4 separate regions of the Homo sapiens genome follow, and all the other regions are linked to region 1. Evidence: promoter capture Hi-C in 16 types of primary human blood cells and fetal thymus (Javierre and others, 2016). All regions are on one chromosome and are shown on one strand. Each heading gives the region's core, a stretch centred on a gene start or on the middle of the fragment in contact. The rest is flanking DNA. Distances are from core to core; before and after follow the strand shown. Region 1 holds the start of SMARCA5 (SNF2 related chromatin remodeling ATPase 5). Region 2 overlaps OTUD4 (OTU deubiquitinase 4). Region 3 overlaps OTUD4 (OTU deubiquitinase 4). Region 4 overlaps ABCE1 (ATP binding cassette subfamily E member 1).

Region 1 (3,823 bases), core at 553-3,052:
AGAGAACTGCACATTTACACATAATTGCTTTGTGTCAAACCCCTTAAGCCTTGGAACAGAAATCCAAGTTAAAGAGCCCTAGTAACCCAAAAGAACCATTTCCTTAAGGAAAAAAAAGCAACACTGAATATATTTTAATTTGGAAGTAATCTTATCTTAATCACTCAAAACTACAGGAACTATCAGGAGTTCCTATGTCACTAAACCTACCCTCACCACTAAAAGTTCTTTAAATGATTACTAACATTAATGTTACTTAACCCCAGCTACCCAAATATAACTACTGTGCCAAAAGCCTCAATGGTAAATTACGCTACCATTTTCTTACTGTATAATGATTCTGCATCAAGACTCATCTTCGGAGCAGTATTACTTTCATTCTGTCTAAGGATAGGAAAATCCCAGAAATCTTTGGGCTCCGACTCACAAAATATCTCAAAACAGGTCGAAGGCCAAGAAAATAAAAATTGGAAGGAGCAATTACTTTGTTCCCAGATGCAAAGCCTGGAAGCATATCCAATTTACCCGCCTGGCAGCTTCCCCCATCTTTCCAGCCCCCTCAGTACTGTCAGCATCCCCTGCCCAACCCAAACCCATAAGTCTCGGCAGCGAGTGGTACTAATTTTTTTTTTTCTTAAGGCCAGAGGCCAAAAAGAGAAAAGTGCCGGACTGAGAGCCAACCAACTGCGCCTGGTTCTCTAATTCATTCCTACACTTATTCATCCCCCCTAAATTAGACGGGGGATCCGAGACAGCTGCTGCTGCCTTGGTTGCTTCCCTTCCAGTGGAATAGTGCCTGGGAGGGGCCTTCTCTCCCTTCACAGAAGCAGCTGCGCCCCGCTTATCCCCACTGCGCACTCGGCCATCCAGCTCTCGCCATTGTTTCTGCCCACAACAGATACCGCCCCTGCAAGGACCGGGAAGAAGAAAAGGAGGCCCAAGTCCTCGGACGCGCTGCTTTTAAATGCCTCCTTCACCCCGCCCGTGCATCCCGCTCCTAAGGGGTCATCTCCTCGCCCTTCCCCGAAGTTTGGTGGAAACTAAAAACCACATTCAGAGGTAGGAGAGGGAATTATGGGAGTCTAGTGGGAAAAAAACGATGGGTCCCCCGGGCCACGGTAACCAAGAACATCTGTTCACTGAGAGCGTTCAAATATTTGTCAGGATTCACGAAAGAGACAAATAATTTAAATGTGAGGAGCCAGAAATCCATTTTGCTTAGCTCGAATAGGGTAAGAACAAGGGAGCAAGAGTGAGAGCATCATTTCGTATCCACAGGGTGTGAAGCTGAGTCTGGTGCAGAGAGAGAAACCCGGCTCTGCGTCCGATCGCCACGATCCGGCGAGGGAGCCAGCTCCTCCTCCCCGCTGCACCCGCTCCCCATGCCGCAAGTCGCCCTCACCTCCATCTCGGCGTCTGCGGGACCAGCGCTGGCCGCAGACGCAACCGCCTGCGCCGCGACGCCTTCGGGGCCGCCTTTGTTGCTGCTGTTGCTCCCGCCGCTGGCGATCGAGGCTGCGGGCTTGGAAGGCGCGCTCTCGGGAGGCGGGGGTGGCGGAGGCTCGGCCGCGGACGACATGATGTTCCGTCTGCGTCACCCGCTGCTGCCAGAGGCCCGAGTCCGGCGGGGATGGACGGGGAGGCCTAGGCCTGGATGCTACGTCGCAATAAACTGGTGGAGGAGCGAGACTCCCACCCGAGCGCTCCCCTGCGCCGCGCCTCCGCGACGGGCCTGAGCCGGGCCCAGGAGCTGCACACTCCCAAACGTTCTGCTCTTCCGCGGGGCTCTAGGTTCCACCGGCGCTTACCTCACGGCGGGAATCACGTCGACGAGGGTGGGCGGGGCCAGACGGGTCACTGAGGTCAAGGAAGGCCGGCTGATTTAGAGAAGGGCGGAGGGTTGGGGGAAGGGAAAAGGAAAACGAAAGAGAGACTGAGGCTGGGAAAACGCTTCGCCGCCTCCTCCTCTTCCTCTGGAAGATAACATCTATCTCGCCAGCATCCAGGACGACGACCTACGCCACCGACTTTCAACACTCGCGAGATTCCTTATTGGCTCACTGACTGGGTCCTGAGCGCGCATGCGCATACTGCCCTCCTCACCCTTGGCCCGCCCTCTTCCAGATCTCTAGCCGGCTCGGGAGAGAAGAGTGGGCGGGACCTCCAGGGAGCGCTCGGAGGTGTAGGTTTGTGCGCCTGCTGCTTGGCAGGACGCGAGCTCAGTGTTTTAGGCTTTCGTAACGGCTCACGGTTCTCGCTGTGTCTTCTGTGCCTGACAGGGGTTGGCGGCACTACCGGAAAACTTGTCTGGGTTTTGCGCTGCCCATTCAAACTTGGAAGTCTTGTGTCTGGCCCCAAAACTTCTGCCGTATCCGCTTAGAGGCGTGACGCCACAGCCTTGACGACGTTATGGTTACCCCAAGTGAAGTCTCACGGTTTTTTGTTGTTAGAAAAAAAAAAAAAGTCCGTTAGTGTGATTTTTTTCTTTTTTCTTTTTTTTTTTTTTTGCCTTCTCATGTTAGCTGCGTCGGTTATTTCTAAATACCCTCCTTAGGCACAGAGTTAAATGATATTTCTTCTGAATTTATATGCCAAAGTTAAGCAAATAACGTGCACACTACCATGGAAGTGAGAAACACGAATAATCAATATATGGGGAAGATAGGTGGTGCGATGTAATCTTTTCCCCAAGCATCAAACATGAAAATTAAAACGTACATTCTCCTTAAGTGTTAACAAATATTCAGCACTGATTTTGTATACTGCCTTAGGCAGCCTTCAATGCAGCTTAAGGGCCTTGTGCATTCATCGCCTACAAAATTTAAATACATTGTAGTCTGTTTGATAACGAATCTGCATACTACAGTAGATTACCTGCCCAGTACAGGGTCTTTTTTATCTTTTTTTATTCCTCATATTCAGTATTCTCTAAATGTTTGTTGAGTAAAGGAGACACATTTTTCGAGAGTTGAGGTTTGAGCTAACTGGTTATGTTGAATTCCAAACAGAAGGGATCCCCTTTGAATATATAGCCTGCAAATTTTTTAACTAATGGAATGATAATTCTTAAATGGACATCTGGAAAAATGTCCCCACTCCACTAGAAATGCTAGTTCTTAGACTATAAGGAAATGTCTAAGGATATATGCAAAGATGAATACCTACAATGATGTTCATCATAGTCTTCATATATGACTGCAAAAAGCTAACAACAGTAGGCTGAATCCAGTATTAAAAGTTAGGTGTTTAAAACTGTCATACACCCAGAAAATGAACTATTAACCTTTAACAACCATTAATGTAGAATAATGGTTGTTTTGTGTTGTTTTGTTTTCAGACAGTTTCTGTCGCCCAGGCTGCAGTGCGGTGGCATGATCTCAGCTCACTGCAATCTCCAACTCCCAGGTTCAAAGGATTCTCATGACTTAGCCTCCGGAGTAGCTGGAATTACAGGCGTGCACCACCACGCCTGGCTAATTTTTGTATTTTCAGTAGAGACAGGGTTTTGCTGTTTTGGCCAGGCTAGTCTCAAACTCCTGGTCTCAAGTGATCTGCTCGCCTAGGCCTCCTAAAGTGCTGGGGTTACAGGCGTGAGCCACCGCACCTAGCCAAAGAATGTTAATTTATAAAGTGTTAACTGAAAAATTTGGTTTAACAGTTCAAAAATGTAGATAAAAGTTGGAAGCATATTTACAAAAGTATTGAAACTGATCGTTGCTGGTTTTTTGTTTTTGTTTGTTTGTTTGTTTGTTTTTTGACAGTGGCTTGCCCTGTCTCCTAGGCTGCAGTGCAGTGTCACAGTCGTGACTCACTGCAGCCTCAG
Region 2 (3,823 bases), core at 984-3,483, 1.7 Mb before region 1:
CCTGGGTTCAAGCAATTCTCCTGTCTCAGCCTCCTGAGTAGCTGGGATTACAGGCACCCACCACCACGCCTGGCCAATTTTTGTATTTTTTAGTAGAGATGGGGTTTCACCATGTTGGCCAGGGTGGTCCTGAACTCCTGACCTCAGGTAATCCACCCTCCTTGGCCTCCCAAAGTGCTGGGATTACAGGCGTGAGCCACCGTGCCTGGCAGAATTTTTCATTTTTTAAAGTGATGTAATACTTCTTGTATAAAAATTAGAAATGTAGCTCGTGTGTTTGATCTAAACAGACTCATATCAGTGAACGGTTTCCTCTACACCAGAGGGTATCACTTCTAGCAGTTTGTGAGAAGCCATGATTGTTAGGCTGAGGCTTATTTTAAGAGATCTATTTTAATATATGGCACCTATTTCATTTTGAAAATCAGAGCTAACTTTTAAGAACTATTGAAAAGTCTCTGAGGGAAAAGATTGTGCTGGTCTAAGATCAAAACATTGTTTAAAATATTTTCCTTATTTCAGTTTTTCTTTCCTTTCAAGGAATAAGTGGCAGCATTCATTTACCAAAGCTCATTGTTTTTGGTGACTTAATGTATTAAGTCTTTACCGACTTCACAGTACTATAGGAAAATATTCTTACGGTAAAAGTTTTAAAATATAGATGTATTATAGAATAAAGGGTGAAAATTCTTCATTTTTCCTCATGTTAACTTCCCTGTCTCTATTGTCAATTTAGGATGTATCCTCCCCATCCCCTTTCTATGTGTGCACATGTACCAATATATATGCCTTTTTGTTTTTCACAAATAGTATTATTTTCCCATGATTTACTTTTAAAACTTAATCTTGAGTGATTTTTCTAGGTCATTTCATGTGGTTATACCTCATTCTTTTGAATGAATGCATGATATTCTATAGTGTGGCTGAAACATGAATTATTTTTTATGAGACATAGTTTCGCTCTTGTCTCCCAGGCTGGAGTGCAGCAGCGCGATCTCGGCTTACTCGACTGCTGCCTCCCAGCTTCAAGTGGTTCTCCTCCCTCAGCCCCCGAGTAGCTGGGATTATAGGCATGTGCCACCAGGCCCGACTAATGTTTTGTATTTTTAGTAGAGATGGGGTTTCACTGTGTTGGTCAGGCTGGTCTTGAACTCCCAACCTCGTGATCTGCCTGTCTCGGCCTCCCAAAGTGTTGGGATTACAGGCGTGAGCCACCACATCCTGCCTGAAACATGAATTATTTTACTATTCTGTAGGAATCTTAGGGACTTTTTTTTTTTTTTAAACACTGTTACAAATAACTCCCAGTGACATCATTATTTTACATACACTTTTGTAGATGTGAAATATTTCTTTATGATAGACGTATAGAAGTTGAATTGCTGGGTCACAGGGTATATGGGACATTTTAAATTTTGAAACATACTGGCCATTTGCCTTTCAGAAAGGCTTTAAGTGACTTTTCTAAGGAGTGTAGAATTTCTCTTGTTTTCAAAACAATTGCTAGGACACTGCTCTCTTTTGTACCTTCATTTACCCTGAAGAGAAGAGATCTTCTGCCCTTTTCTATACTTCCCAATTTTCTGCTTCTATTCAATATTTCTTTCTTTCTTTTTTTTTTTTTGAGACCGAGTTTTGCTCTTGTTGCCCAGGCTGGAGTGCAATGGTGCAATCTTGGCTCACTGCAACCTCTGCTTCCTGGGTTCAAGCGATTCTCCTGCCTCAGCCTCTTGAGTAGCTAGGACTATAGGCATGGGCCACCACACCCGGCTAAGTTTGTATTTTTAGTAGAGAGGGGGTTTCTCCATGTTGGTCAGACTGGTCTCGAACTCCCGACCTCAGGTGATCCGCCCTCCTTGGCCTGCCAAAGTATTGGGATTACAGGCATGAGCCACTGCGCCCAGCCGCCTCTATTCAGTATTTCATTTCCCGAGCTTATACCATGTGCCAGGCGCTCTCCTGAGGGCTAGGCTGGAGGATAGCCCTTGCCTTCAATACGTTCTCAACTTGGGCCAGGCGCAGTGGCTCACGCTTGTAATCCCAGCACTTTGGGAGACTGAGGCGGGTGGATCACCTGAGGTCAGTAGTTGAGACCAGCCTGACCAACATAGAGAAACCCCGTCTCTACTAAAAATACAAAATTAGCTGGGCATGGTGGCACATGCCTGTAATCCCAGCTACTTGGGAGGCTGAGGCGGGAGAATCGCTTGAACCTCGGAGGCAGAGGTTGCGGTGAGCCGAGATCACGCCGCTGCACTCCAGCCTGAGCAACAAGAGCGAAACTCCATCTCAAAAAAAAAAAAGTCTCAACTTAACAGATGCCATGCTGTGGTCTTGCCACACCAATAGGAACTGTCATTTCACCCTGTTAGTATTTTTTTGTGTATGTGTGGGAGAGACTTGGACTGCATTTTACCACATATTGTGGTCTGTTTTATATAAACGTTTTTATAATATTCACAATACTACTAATAATAATGAGCTTTAAGAACTCATTACGTATGCTGTATGAAGGTATGTATAGAAATATAAAGTGGAATCTAAAAAGTGTGAGACACTTACATGCCACCTTTTTTTCTTCAATACAGGAATGGGTAGGACAAGTGGAAATAAGTGCCCTTTCTCTTATGTACAGGTAAACACTGTAATAACATAAGTAAAAGAAAATGAAACCAGTGGGAAATTATATTCCATTATATTAAAAATGTTAAAATAGCAAAGCTCTTTTATACTTTAGTTATGAAGTATCTTTTCTAAGTTTTTTTTAATTGCATCAATTAGATTTTGACATTTAGATATGTCAGTGTTTAGAAATTTTAATTCTCAAAATACTTTGGAAAAGGGTACAGAAATTTTTCCGGTCTATGTTCTGTAAGATATCACTTATCAACTTTGTAGAGAAATGATTTTCTACTTTCTCAGGGTCAGTGGTATTGAATGGCCACTAGAACCGTACTAAAATACCATGTTACAAATTGGGTATTCCTTATCTGAAATGATTGAGTCCAGAAGTTTTTGGATTTCATTTTTTTTTTAAATTTTGGAATATTTACATTATGCTTACCCAGTTGAGCATCCCTAATTTGAAAATCTGAAATCCAAAATGCTCCAATGAGCATTTCCTTTGAGTGTCATGTTGGTGCTCAAAAAGTTTTAGATTTTGGAACATTTGGGATTTTGGCTTTTTAGATTTGGGATGCTCAACCTGTATTCAATTTTGCTACTTTTGCCTAGTAGAGGAGCAGGTAAATACTTTGTTTTTTCTTTTCAGAATGTTGTTTAAATTTCATCTTCAAAATTTCTTTGATTTTTGAAGTGTCCCTTTAGAATTATATCTGAAATTTAATATATATACAAATAATATTTGAAATTTTACATGTTAAAAAGGTTACTTTTATATAGATATTTTACAACTTAGTTATCTCATTATTGTCTTTTGTATCTCCAGTGGTTGGGACAGTGCCTGGCACGTATTAGGCCCTTGATGAATGAATGAATGATTAAATTCAAATTCATGAAGTATAGTCCATTATAAATAATTTCTAATTGTTATTTTCAGGAAAGATTTTATAATTTATCGGGAACCAAATGTTTCTCCTTCACAAGTAACAGAAAATAATTTTCCTGAAAAGGTAAGAATTTTTCAAAGTGTTCTAAAGTATTTAAGTAAAAGAACCGCTTAGTTGCTACCATGACCTCATAAGCTATAATTTTAAATGATTTTTTGAAATATTTCTGTATTAAGGTTATGGTATTCTGATTTCTTAAAAGTTCCTATAGCCGGGTGCGGTGGCTCATGCCTGTAATCCCAGCACTTTGGGAG
Region 3 (3,823 bases), core at 808-3,307, 1.6 Mb before region 1:
AATAATTGAAGTGCCCAAATCCGTACATAAATAAGCATTGTTTATGTGCAAAGTACATTTATCTCTCATGTCATGTGTTATTATATAAATAACAACTACAAATTGTTTAAGCTTGTATTCATACCATTATGCATTTTTCAGTTAGTGAATTGTAAATGTACAACTACTGTAATGTGGGTACAGATGGTGAAATTTCTTTCTTATTAAGAATGGGGTCCTTCATACTCATCATTTTAGACTAAGGAGTTTGATACTGATTGCTTTTGATAGTGGCTCAGATTTGTTTTCTAGAAAACTGTTAGAGAGGGCTGAGATCCTCCTCTTAGCTGTGTGGAACATTTATTTAGAATGCCAAAACAGGAACCTAGAACCCTCAGTGATAATTTAGCTTAAAAACCTCACTTATTTCAGTCCCTTATCTCATGCAGAGTTTAAGTGATTTGCTGACAGTAAGCATTTCAGTGATAAGAATCCTAGTGCACTGTATTTGCTAATTTGCACTTAGGTTCTCCCCAACTCCCCACCAAAAAATATGGCGCTACAATGATTTTTTTGGAAGGTTGGCACAGAAGATGTTGTTTTTTTTGAAAGAAAAATTGTAGGGTAAAGGTTTGTTCAGGGTGGCTTCCTGAAATAGGGATATGAAGATTAAGTCTACTAATCTAAGTTGAAATCTGATTGCTTAATCCTTTCAACTTAGCGATAAGACTATTATTCTAGGGTGTATAATTAATTATGGACCCTAGATTCTATCTTCTTTAGTTTCAGTTAAAAATACAGGGCTGTGAATTTTAAGATTTTAGAAGTATGAAGAGTGAGATTAATTACAGAATTTGTTCATGTATCTGTGGGTAAATCTTTAACACAAAATGTTGGGTTTTGTTCATTTTAAAGAGCTCATCAGTCAATCAGTCAGCTTCTCAGAGTAGCAATCCATGTGTCCAGAGAAAATCATCACATGTAGGTGATAGAAAAGGAAGCAGGCGGAGAATGGATACAGAAGAACGAAAAGACAAAGGTAAGTTATCTCATCATTAGAAAGCAGATGCTAGAGATCTCTTTAGATGACTGGCTTAATGTCATATATTTGGGAAAGAACCCTTTTTAAGTTGTTAAGTAGTTTATCTAATGTCACATATTTTGAATGTTGCAGAGAAGTATTGACTCAAGCTAAAGGATGTTAAGTGCTATTCTAAAAACTACATTTTCACTGACTAAACATGGTTCAAATAATACTTTTGGCTTCTTCTATCTTCGTATTTTGTTCTTCTGTGTTCAGACATGACTGGTGGCTTATGCTGTCTTTTTTAATCTTGATCTGCTATAGACTCTATTCATGGACATAGTCAGTTGGATAAAAGACCCGAACCAAGCACATTGGAGGTAAAAGTTTTAAACACTACTTGCATCTTTTCTTTTTCCTTAATACTGTGTAGTACAGTAGGAAGAAGTGGAAGAAGGTGAAAATAATTTCGAAATTTTATAGCTGTGTATTAGGAAAGTAGAAAAGCAGGGAAAAGATGATGGGGATTGAGAAGTCACTCACAAATTATGACAGTTTCTTCAAGGTACATTAGGGTGCCCTGCCTGAATTGTTAGAAAGTAGCCTTTATTCTCTGTCCCTCTAGAGTGATGTTTTTAAAGGAGAAGAGTATAATGTTTGAAGCCTTGCCTCCAGTGAAAACTGCCCAGTAGTTTGATGTAATAAAGATGTTCAGGCAAAGTTAGCCTACCTGTTGAAAATAACATATAATTGGAAAAAATACTCAGTGGTGAGAGGGTTCTGTCAGATACAGGTAGGGTGAATTATAAAAGGAAACCATCAATATTCCAGAATGTGGGTCTCTGAAATACAAAACTTTGCTTCTTTTTTGCTTCCAAAGAATATTACTGATGATAAATATGCAACAGTTTCATCACCATCAAAGTCAAAGAAGTTAGAGTGCCCTTCTCCTGCGGAACAAGTAAGTATATTGTTGCATTTAACATTGAATGCTCCACTCTCTGGGTTTCTGTGCTCTGTGTATAGGGTCATTTAAAAACAGAAAACATCAGTATGGGAAATGGGAGAATTTTTTCTGGCATCACAGTTTGGCTGTGGTTATGATTTTTAAATGTATTCTGATGTTAGTCTAGAATGTTCTCTATTTATGGAATGTTATAGAAATAACCACCATTTTCTGGTGATTGAGACCATTTTTTTGAATTGACTTTGAATATATTTATATTTGTTATCGTTATATTTGATACTTTGTATTACTTTGGTAGATTTCCTTGAAAATTAGATTTTTGAAGGGAAACTGAATTTCTACTTTATTTCAAAATTTAAAAGAGTTATCTGCATCAGTTATTTCACAGATGGGAGGGAATGTACTGATTGAAAAGGTTTGAAAAATATACATTAAAAAAATACCAATTTACAAATTTCATGATGAACCTGTGTTCTAGCAGACATTTTAGTTCTTGACTAATACAAGAGTAGAGAAAGTTAAATGTTAAATGCCTTTCAACCAACATTCTTCATATTGGTAAGAAAGCATATAGTTACATGAGGAGTTTTTCTAAATAATCATGAATTTCAAGATTTCAATGATTTTGCTCACTTGCCTTAAAAGTATTGTGTTGTATTTAACTCTGCTAGTGGATAGGTGCGGTGGCTCACGCCTGTAATTCCAGCACCTTGGGATGCCAAGGCGGGCAGATCGCTTGAGCCCAAGAGTTTTGAGACTAGCCTGGGCAACAGGGTGAAACCCTGTCTGTATTAAAAAATACAGTCCTTGTTGGTAGGCAACCCTTGGTTAGGATCAAATTTGTTTGCATATTATCTTTAGCTACTGTGTGTTTTTCTTACATTTCTAAGACTATAAGGGCTATTTGTACTTCATTTGTATAAAAGGCAGGCAACTCAATATGTATCTGGTGGTTAGAAATAGTGTTAAAGCAAAATGACCTCTTGTCTTTTTCTGTCTTCCCCCACTCACCCCTTTCTTGAAGAAGCCAGCAGAACATGTGTCTTTGTCAAATCCAGCTCCCCTTCTAGTTTCTCCAGAGGTACATCTAACTCCTGCGGTGCCTTCTTTACCAGCCACTGTGCCAGCCTGGCCAAGTGAACCTACAACTTTTGGACCAACAGGTTAGAGAAGGGTTTAGAAAATCTAGCCAGCCAAAATACCTTTCTAGTCAGAGACTTCAAATTCTTGAGTGGAAGTTTGACCTCTGAGCAGGATTAGGTGTGTGGAGCCTCACAGAGCTTTCTGTGATACTCTGCTTTGCTCTGCTTCCAATGTGGAAAGACCATGTACATTTGGTGTTGTATTCATCTGACATATGCCCTCATAGTCTCAGGAGCATGATGTTTGAGCTGGTTGCTTTGGTTGCTCAGCACTAATTAGCACCACGGTTTGATGCTTCCTTCATGGGCCAGCTCTTTATGGCCCCGTAATGAACCCCTTGACCAGCCCCATGTCCTACACGTGCCTGCAAGAGCTACTATTAGAAGACATTGACTCAGAGCTTGTATCCTGGACGTATTTCCTTCTTGGTGTCCAGGAGGGCTCTTGGTTGATACTAAAAGGTACTACTTTAGATTGGCTTTATCAGTTATACAGCATTCTTTATAGGTTAATGTAAGCATATTTGTAGAGATTTTCATCTTTTGTCATTTTGATTCCTTTTCTTCTCTTTTGTAGGTGTCCCTGCTCCAATTCCCGTTTTGTCAGTGACACAGACTTTGACCACTGGACCTGATTCAGCTGTATCCCAAGCTCATTTAACACCCTCTCCAGTTCCTGTGTCAATACAGGCAGTTAACCAGCCCTTGATG
Region 4 (3,823 bases), core at 908-3,407, 1.6 Mb before region 1:
CTTAATGCTTCCAAAGAAATTCTTCTTTTCTACCCAATATGCTTTTCAAAACTGAGAAAACTCTTCAATTTTATGTGAGAACTTAACCATTTCTCTATCCTGGCCAAGAAGTAATATCAATCAGAAAAAAGGCATCCAGACATACTGTTAGGTGCTTAAGAATACAATGACGTGCAAGATAACTTTGCCTCTGGCATTCCAAGAGCTCATGGTTTAGCAGCAAAGCTAGGACTACAAATATGAAAATAAATGCTACAGCAGAAGTATGTATAACATACTTCTAAAGCTTTTAAGCATTAAGGATGATGGATACAGAGTGATAAAATGTAAACACTTTGAGGCACTGCAGATATTAAAAACAGAAATGATGGCCAGCATGGTGGCTCACGCCTGTAATCCCAGCACTTTGGGAGGCCAAGGCAGGTGGAACACTAGGTCAGGAGTTCAAGACTAGCACGGGCAAGATGGTGAAACCCCATCTCTATCAAAAAAATACAGAAAATTAGTCGGGTGTGGTGGTGGGCACCTGTAATCCCAGCTACTCGGGAGGCTGAGGCAGAGAATTGCTTGAACTCGGGAGGCAGAGGTTGTAGTGAGCCGAGATCACGCCACTGCACTCCAGCCTAGGTGAGAGAGTGAGACTCTGCCTCAAAAAAACAAACAACTAAAACCAAAACCAAAAAAACAACCCAGAAATGCTTTTAGAGTTCATTTACTTTCTGTTTCTGAGTGACTAAGATTTTTGCCTTTTAAGAAACAAATACTGTATTTCACAGAGGAAATCAACTGTAGGGTGCACAACTGTGAACTACAAAGACAAAAAACATTGTCAATTAAGTAGACACAATGTTTTCCTCATCACAGGAGCTTGTTTAGACTTTCAAAATATACTTTTTTTGCGGGGGTTGCGGGGGCGGGGGCAGGGACAGAGACTCGCTCTGTTGCCCAGGCTGGAGTACAGTGGAACGATCTCAGCTCACTGCAACCTCCACCTCCTGGGTTGAAGTGATTCTCCTGCCTCAGCCTCCCGAGTAGCTGGGATTACAGGCGCATGCCACCACGCCTGGCTAATTTTTTGTATTTTTAGTAGAGATGGGTTTTCACCGTTAGACAGGATGGTCTCGATCTCCTTGGCTTCCCAAAGTTCTGGGATTACAGGCATAAACCACTGCGCTTGGCCTAAAATACACCTTTTAATCATGTATTGAAAAATATAACAGAAATTGGTTAAGGTATTCTTAAAAAATTCTTTGTTACAATGGTGAATTAGTGTAATCTTTCCCCAGACATTTTAAGTGGTAATCAATATAGGTAGTACAACTGTGATACAACTTAAAGAGAAAACAGGAAGAGCTCTTGAGTTCACACAGCAATGACAGCTACATTACAATTGCTGCCTACCGCACACTAAAGTATGCCATCAGGTCTTAAAATGTAAAAAACATAGGAATTTTAAAATAAAATATGGTTGTTTTTTAATTTATTTTTATTTTTTTAGACAGAGTCTCACTCTTTTGCCCAGGCTGGAGTACAGTGGGATGATCTCAGCTCACTACAACCTCCACCTTCCAGGTTCAAGTGATTCTCCTGCCTCAGACTCCTAAGTAGCTGGGATTACAGATACCTGCCACCAGACTCGGCTAATTTTTGCATTTTTAGTAGAGATGGGGTTGCACCATGTTGGCCAGGCTGGTCTCAAACTCGTGACCTCAAGTGATCTGCCTGCCTTGGCCTCCCAAAAGTGCTTGAATCACAGGTGTGAGCCACTGTGCCCAGCCATATGTTATTGATTTTTAAATAGCCTTTCAAGTGTTTATACTGAGATCAGTAATCCATGATTTAAGACAACTTTTCTACATACCTTAATTGAATTAAGTTTGTTTATTCGTGGCCTATAGTTGTTTGGATCTCTTCTGAATGTAATTTCAAGCTGAGACAAAAATTTATTCATGCCAGCCAAAAGGGTTTGAGGACTAAGAGAAAAAAAAAAATCAATTTTGATTAAATTTTACTTCAGAAATGTAACTACCTTTTGAGAGGAAGGGTATTAAGAATTACTATTACCTCAAATTCCCCAATCATAAATCATCTGGATAACAGTATAATAACAGCATATTACAAATCCTGTGTTCAGAAATAGCTTTGCTTGGACTATATAGTTTTCTTGGCTGTAATATTTTTGTGCAAAACAAAAAAAAAATTTAACCTGGATTTCTAATCTGGTGAAAGAAACATTTAAGATAGAAGTACTACTTTAGAAAAACAGAAGATAATTAATAAGTAGATTACAGAATCTCCAATTGCACATTTTTAGGGGGGATGAGAATCTTAAAAAGTTATATTTATATGAAAAATTTGTTACTGGAGGGAATATGTCCTCCTAATAGTGGTTTTCAGTGACAATTCCTTTCTAAATTTCTATGCTTAATCGTTTTTACCCAAGTGAGTTCTTAAATCATGCCAAATCACAACATACATGTGAAACATTTTAAAATTTTGTAAATAGAAAGGTGGGATATCACTAGATGAACAAATAAACATCACATATGCTAAGAAATTTCCCTAGCTCTTTAAGAAATATGTAATTCTCAATTTATAAAAAAAAAAAAGGAATTCAGGGAAGAAGCCCAGCAAAATACTTTTATTTCTTAGATGAATTATTAAAATGGCAACTCCATTCCTTGCTCTCCAATACCAGAAAACATGCTGAAACCACATGAAACTGCTGGTTTTATAGGTGAAAACTGAACACCAGTAATTTCATTTAGTTCAATCTAATAATATAGGCTTTAGCACTAAAGGTAAAATGAATTTCTCATAACTTGATCTGAATGTTAGGCTTCTCTATATTGCAAGTGCTCTTAATCAGGCTAACAAGGAAAAATGAGAAGAAAAAACGAAAAAAGTAAAACCATTTATTTTAACTCTGCTATAGATTAATACCAGATATTTGGGATCCACTGTGAGCTCAATCACTGTCAGCATAAGTTGGACAAATCATGTAACCTCTTTAATCTTGTTTTCTTTTTCTATCATGTATGAAAGCAATAGTTTTCAATCTTTTTTGGGAAATTCAAATAATAAAGCAAACAAAAGTTAAGCTGAGAAAAGGTGAGGGGCCCACAGCTTTTTATGCTGTGGCCTACAGCTTTTTATCTTCCTGGTGAGGGATTCCACACTGAAGCCTAAACACTACTCTTCCACATGGTCCCATCCAGTCCCCAATACCAATGATCTCAGGAGTCACAGAATCAAGTCTAGAATTTCTAGCTTTCATTTTTTAAAAATTAAAGTGAGTGACTTTACTATTTACTGGAAAATTTAAAATGAATTACTTTGAACATATTAAAAAGTAATTTTACCTGTTTGCAACTGTGTTCTTAGATGGAACACCATCAAAAACGATGACGCGATCCGCTAGATAGGTGGCCATGATGAAGTCATGTTCCACAACAAAGGCTGTCTTTTTTGCATGGAGTATGAAACTAAAACACAATGATTTTGAAATCTTATAGCTTTCTATCATAAAACATTCGACTGTTATATTAAGCACACTTGTAGGACAGTATACATAATCAAAATATGGCTAGGAGCAAGATATTTACCGTTTGACAACTCGAGCTGCCATCAGTCTTTGCTCAGAATCCAAATATGCAGATGGTTCATCAATTAAATAGACATCAGCAGGTTTGCCCAAGCAAAGGGCTAAAGCTACTCGCTGTAGTTCACCACCAGATAATGTCTGCACCTAATTGGAGGAGTTTAGCAAACCATGTAAAGGCATCCAAAATTCAAAATAATAAAAAAATAAAAAAAATTATGT

What was found. Contacts are between HindIII fragments. The CHiCAGO score rates a contact against its expected background, and 5 or more counts as called.
Region 2: a fragment that was not itself captured here is called in contact with the fragment with the promoter of SMARCA5 in region 1 in 5 of 17 cell types (naive CD8 T cells, monocytes, total CD4 T cells and 2 more); the score reaches 8.7 in naive CD8 T cells.
Region 3: a fragment that was not itself captured here is called in contact with the fragment with the promoter of SMARCA5 in region 1 in 4 of 17 cell types (naive CD8 T cells, total CD4 T cells, non-activated CD4 T cells and 1 more); the score reaches 17.0 in naive CD8 T cells.
Region 4: a contact is called between a fragment that was not itself captured here and the fragment with the promoter of SMARCA5 in region 1, in 2 of 17 cell types (naive CD4 T cells and total CD4 T cells). The highest score is 6.5, in naive CD4 T cells.

The regions. Positions count from the first base shown.
Region 1 is chr4:143,511,681-143,515,503 of GRCh38, reverse strand. It overlaps SMARCA5 (SNF2 related chromatin remodeling ATPase 5), which reads right to left and starts at 1,802. Exons shown (of 24, transcript NM_003601.4): 1 at 1,403-1,802. The coding sequence starts at 1,579. SMARCA5-AS1 (SMARCA5 antisense RNA 1) reads left to right here and starts at 667. Exons shown (of 2, transcript NR_104027.1): 1 at 667-1,059; 2 at 1,279-2,032. RefSeq lists enhancers at 1,182-1,301, 1,362-1,421, 1,712-2,081, 2,112-2,181, 2,212-2,301 and 1 more. The HindIII fragment of the contact is 18,533 bases long and covers 1-3,823 here.
Region 2 is chr4:145,163,963-145,167,785 of GRCh38, reverse strand. It overlaps OTUD4 (OTU deubiquitinase 4), which reads left to right. Exons shown (of 21, transcript NM_001366057.1): 4 at 2,589-2,635; 5 at 3,560-3,632. Among named protein-coding and RNA genes, the nearest start is that of OTUD4, 15 kb to the left of the region's middle. The HindIII fragment of the contact is 5,397 bases long and covers 1-3,823 here.
Region 3 is chr4:145,141,506-145,145,328 of GRCh38, reverse strand. It overlaps OTUD4 (OTU deubiquitinase 4), which reads left to right. Exons shown (of 21, transcript NM_001366057.1): 15 at 895-1,018; 16 at 1,328-1,383; 17 at 1,884-1,964; 18 at 2,995-3,133; 19 at 3,690-3,823. Among named protein-coding and RNA genes, the nearest start is that of OTUD4, 37 kb to the left of the region's middle. The HindIII fragment of the contact is 3,887 bases long and covers 114-3,823 here.
Region 4 is chr4:145,123,140-145,126,962 of GRCh38, reverse strand. ABCE1 (ATP binding cassette subfamily E member 1) reads right to left here. Exons shown (of 18, transcript NM_002940.3): 15 at 3,606-3,748; 16 at 3,363-3,485; 17 at 1,862-1,973. Among named protein-coding and RNA genes, the nearest start is that of ABCE1, 27 kb to the right of the region's middle. RefSeq lists an enhancer at 592-831. The HindIII fragment of the contact is 3,737 bases long and covers 289-3,823 here.